Linked DNA regions of Homo sapiens: region 1 is linked to region 2. The links are contacts of gene promoters, found by promoter capture Hi-C in human tissues and cell types (Jung and others, 2019). All regions are on one chromosome and are shown on one strand. The core of a region is centred on a gene start or on the middle of the fragment in contact, and the rest is flanking DNA. Distances in the headings are between cores, read along the strand shown. Region 1 overlaps LOC105377989 (a long non-coding RNA gene). Region 2 holds the start of TRMT11 (tRNA methyltransferase 11).

Evidence for each region. Contacts are between HindIII fragments. The study calls those that stand out against the background at their distance.
Region 1: a fragment that was not itself captured here is called in contact with the fragment with the promoter of TRMT11 in region 2 in 1 of the 25 tissues and cell types used here (stomach).

What each region holds. Positions count from the first base shown.
Region 1 is chr6:127,063,243-127,065,942 of GRCh38, reverse strand. The region is part of intron 5 of LOC105377989 (a long non-coding RNA gene); the gene reads left to right. Among named protein-coding and RNA genes, the nearest start is that of RSPO3, 54 kb to the left of the region's middle. The HindIII fragment of the contact is 4,129 bases long and covers 1-2,700 here.
Region 2 is chr6:125,985,175-125,987,898 of GRCh38, reverse strand. It overlaps TRMT11 (tRNA methyltransferase 11), which reads right to left and starts at 1,359. Exons shown (of 13, transcript NM_001031712.3): 1 at 1,277-1,359. The coding sequence starts at 1,348. RefSeq lists enhancers at 476-1,305, 839-1,328, 1,306-2,136. The HindIII fragment of the contact is 9,309 bases long and covers 1-2,724 here.

The DNA of each region.
Region 1 (2,700 bases), core at 92-2,591, 1.1 Mb before region 2:
TATTTACAGGTACATATTTATTCTCATATGTCCTGATTGAGACTCGATGAGTTGTTGTTGTTTTTAATATAAGTGTTCTTGTCTTTCATCACTTCTGAGAAATTATCTTTGTATATTGGGCTTACCACCCTGTTTAACAAATACTGCATCTCCTCACTCTCACTCTAGGCCCTATGTGTCTAGTCTGTACTGTTTTGAATCTTGTTATGTTTATGTGCTGCATTCTGGGTAATTCCTCAGTGCTGGGATTACAAGTGTGAGCCAACCCACCCAGCCAAGAGCAAACTCTATAGTTAAAGGCAAATAATCTCAGGTATAACAAAAAGAATAAATTCAATTATAAGAATCACACCTTAAGCATAACAAAAAATAGCTAGTATTTACCTAGGAATAAGCACAGTGCTTAGAATTGTAACTTCTTCAAATCTCACAAAAGCCTTTTGACATAGTATTCAGCTGGGTTGACCTCATGCTTATGTCCAGAACTACCTGGAGTAATCACCCTTGGCCAATGTTATAATATATTTTAACTAGTGATAAATTATGTTCTATAACCATGTGGATGCATCAATTTGTCAACACTGTTTTGTAATTGATGATTTGCATCTGTGTTTGGTGCAACCTGGGTAATTTTTGTAATTTAGGATGATCACATAGCTGGAATGTGCCTATGTGACCACCTCTCTATAACAGACCCCATCATGAACAGACTTTGAGCTTGTTGGTACCAAGATGCTTTGCATACATTTTGATGGTGATTCAAAACTAGGAGAACAAGTCAATTCAGTGCAATCCATAGTGAGAAGACAAGCCTGCATCTGAGATTTCCAGACCCCTTTCAATGAATACCTTTGTTTTGCCATTGTTGCATTGTATCCTTTACCCATAATAAAGCTATTTTGTGAGTAAACACTATTTGAGTCCTTTCAGCAAACAAACACGAAGATTAATATAAAATTAAGGCAGATATATACCATGTTAATATCTCTGTTTTAAAAATGAGAACCCGGAGGCATGGAGGTGTTAAAAAACTTCCCCCCAGATAATACCATTATAAAGTGACAGAGCAGGGACTTAACAGGAAGTCTGAGAGCTCAAGACTTGCTGTCTTCCCCACTGCACTACATTGCATCTCTGGTGGAACAGAAAAATTAAAAACAAAAATGGGAAAAATATACTTGGCAAATAAATCCTAAGAGGAAACTTGTGTAGCTTTATAATTATTGGACAGAATAGATTTTGAGGCAAAAGATATTATAGAGAGAAAATTTTGCTAAGTAATTATACATAAAAATACTAATCAGAAAGATGTAACAATTTTGAACACGTGTGCACCTCTATCAAAACAATCTTGGCTGCGGGCAGTGGCTCACGCCTGTAATCCCAGCACTTTGGGAGGCCGAGGCGGGCGGATCATGAGGTCAGGAGATTGAGACCATCCTGGCTAACACGGTGAAACCCTGTCTCTACTAAAAAATAGAAAAAATTGGCCGGGAGTGGTGGCGGGTGCCTGTAGTCCCAGCTACTCGGGACACTGAGGCAGGAGAATGGCGTGAACCCAGGAGGCGGAGCTTGCAGTGAGCCAAGATCGTGCCACTGCCCTCCAGCCTGGGCAACAGAGCGAGGCTCCATCTCAAAAAAAAAAAAAAAAAAAAAAAAAAAATCTTATTATGCATAAGAAAAATTGACACAATTTCAAGAAGAAATTGACCAATCCACCATCATGATACGTAACACCATTCTTTTAATATTTGATAAGTCAAGCAGATTAAAAATAATACTGATTTTGAAAATTTGAACAACACATAAAAAAGCTTGATAATCTGGGCACATATGTAATTCTGCTCTTAAATTAGAGAACACATGTGACCACATATTATTTTAAAAGGATTATTAAGGTATGTAACAGGTATATATGGCATATAAACAAAATCCTTTTTAATTTAGGTTACATTTTCTTATCATTCAGTGACAAAATTGGAAATAAATAACAAAAATGACCAAAAAACCTGTCATATCAGAACATTTAACAATGAACTTCTTAACTCAGACTTTTGGTATAAACGGAAAAATACAAATTAGAGTATTTTTCCTTCTCTTCCTGGCACACTTAAAAAGCAACAAGTAAAAAAAAAAACCTATAAAAACTCCATCTTGAGTGAATGTAGGAGAAAATTATAATATGAATATATATTTGAGATTAAGAGCAGAGGACAGAGAAGGGCCCACTAGCAGAATATCTCAGAATGCCCCAGCAAAGGCTTGGTGTGGTGGCTCGTGCCTATAATCCCAGCACTTTGGAAGGCCAAGACAGGTGGATCACCTGAGGTCAGGAGTTTGAGACCAGCCTGGCCAACATGGTGAAACCCTGTCTCTACTAAAAATACAAAAATTAGCTGGGTGTTGTGGTGTGTGCCTTTAGTCCCAGCTATTGGGGGTGCTGAGGCAGGAGAATCACTTGAAATGGGGAGGTGGAGGTTGCAGTGAGCCGAGATTGTGCCACTGTACTCCAGCCTGGGAAACAGAGTGAGACTCCATCTCAAAAAAAAAAAAGAAAAAAAAAGAAAAAAAAGCCCCAGCGAAAGTGTTCTTGTGAAGCTGAGGGGAGTACCATAAAGTGTAAAAACTACATTCAGCATTGATGTTATTCAGTGCACATAATAGTGTTAGTTATTAAAATCCTGCAATAATTCAGAGTAG
Region 2 (2,724 bases), core at 110-2,609:
GCATATTCATATATCCACCGCCTCTTGGTCATCTCAGGTTGATGTTACACAACCACATCAAATTCAGTGTAAACAAAATTTAAATCTTACATCTGCCTATGTTCTCTATTTTAAATGGAGACACTCCTACCTATATACACCCCAGGAGTCATACCTGACTGGTGCCCCTTTCCCACATATTCAATCAATCCAGCCTTAATGACTGTATGGCCTAAATATTTTCCCAGTCTATCCCATCCTCTTACTCCTTGCCCTAGGTCAGACCTTCTTAATCTATTAACAAGACTATTCCCACAGACTCCTAGTCTCTGGCTCAAGTCTTATTCTTTTCAAATCCATCCTCCATAGTGTTGTCAAACTGATTTAATTTTGTGGTCACTTTTTTACTTAAGGCTTTTCAATAAATCCCCCTTCCAAGCTCCAGGGTACTCAAGGTTTTCATTTTCTGGCCTCGATCTACTTCCCTTGCTCTCTTCTTACCACTCTGCCACATAACTAGTGATCCAGTAATAATGAACACCTTGTAATTCTAATTTACTGATTTATCTCCTTGGCCCTCTAACTCCTATTCATCCTTTATTTCAAGTGTCATCTCCTCTGGAAGCCCTCTTAAAGGCCAACATCCCCAACCCCTCAGGTAGATTAGATTTCCCTTCCACGTGCTCTCATATTTCCATGTGCATCTATCACTGCACTTACCGACGCTCTTTTGTCATTCTACGCCTATGTGTCTGCTCAGCCCTTACTCTAAACAGTAAGCTCCTAGAGGGCAGAGATTGCTTACATCATCGTTACATGCCCAGCGTACCGATCTTCGACTACATGCATTCTGAAAACGTTTCTTGAATAAATAAAACACTCTTCTCAACTTCTCCATCATCTAATCCCCACCACCATCCCCTCCACTGAGCTTGATCCGCAGATTCCAATACTTCAAACACCAGCCTGAGCATTTGTTAGCTGTCTCTATTCTCCGCTAGACGAAGAGCTCCGGGAGTGAGATGACCGGTCATATTCACCTGCCTAACTCCGGTACTTGATACACGGGCAAAAGAATGAAAAGTTTAAGCAGGCCGAGGGGTTTGGTCTCGGACTTCTCTCACACACACCCTCCGCCAAGCTCACCCCGCCCGAGGACTGGGGACGCGTGACCCGCGCAGACCAGCGAAGACCCCCGAATCCCAGCTTCCTCGGGCTATGCAGATCACCTCCACCCACTCCACTCCACTCCAGCGTCCTCTTCCGTCGGAAGTTCCGGAGGGCGCTACGGACTCACCGGCAGGCGGAACTCCAGATGCTCCTGCGCCATGAGGAGCAGATACCTGTTAAGGGTACACGACAGCGCCATTGCAGCTGCCCACCGTGCGCCTGCGCGGCCCGCGCTAGGTCCCTCTTTCTCCCTCCCAAAGCCCAGTCTCCACAGAGACAGAGCCTGAAGGGCCGGAAGCGGAAGCTCTGCGAGGCAGGCGCTATCCCGACGTTTCTCGCGCTCCGAGTCCGAAACTCCGGCCGCTGTGGGAGGGGCTTCCTCACCTGTGAATGCCTGGTGGTTAGGGGTCTCCCAGCGCTGGTAGCTGGTGAGCGGGGACGCGTGGCTTTCAGGAGCAGCCTGTGATAATAAGACAGTATATTTCCAAGTTATCGTTCCACTTGGAGTGTGCTTCCAGCTTTCTCTACAGCCCTTCAAAACCTGTTCTTCAAAATTGGACTGAAATTTCACCATTTCCTTGGAAATTTCACCATTTCCTTGTAGGTTTGTCTAACCAGCACAGCTTTGGGAACTGATTTAGTTGGGCCAGTCATTTAACAGTATATTTTTCGTATTTATGTAACAACTTTTCGAGAGCACATGCCTTATAACCCAATTATAATAAACTCTTGAGGTCTGATATAATCTTTTATGGTTCACTCTATTCTTAACAAAAACCAAAAGAATATCTTCCTCAAAGTAGGCAATAATTATTAGGTTGTGTTATTTGTTAGACTCAGGACTAAATCCACAGCCAGCCATAAATTAAAACTTGGAGAAAGCTCACACTGGCACAGATTTCATAGCAGATAGTTTATGAAATATATTTTAATTGCATATTCTATGTATATATGTGACTTTTTTTTTTTAAGACAATCTTGCTCTGTCACCCAGGTGAGTGCAGTGGCGCAATCATAGCTCACTGTAACCTTGAACTCCTGGTCTCAGGGGATACTCCTACCCTAGTCTCCCAAAGTGCTAGAATTACGGGCTCAAGCCCTCCCTCTGGGCTATTTCTGCTTTTGAGAGTACCGAGCCCTTTGCCCTATTAAAAATTATTTATTTTGCATTTCTCTGTGGTATTGTACAAGGTGCAAAAGAGTATGTATCTGGCATATCCCCAGCGGCATGTGCCAGAAACGTAGTTGATGCGCAGTGGTAGTGATTAAGAACATAGGCTGTGGTGTCAATATTAGATTCAAACCTCACTTCCACCATTTACCATGTATATGCTCTTAACCTCTCCGAGCTTGAGTTTTCTTTTAAAAATGGAAAAACACACTGCCTCCTGCAAAGGATTGTTACAAGGATTAAGTGGAATAATGTTCATAAAGTGTTGAATATAACATCTGGCATATTGAATGGGGCCAATAAGTGGCACTTGACATTTTTCTTAAGAAAATCACATGAGAATTTTTGTTAGCAAGAGATCTGTTTTTGTTAGGAATATGTCTCAAGTTCACTTGTGCTAAGTG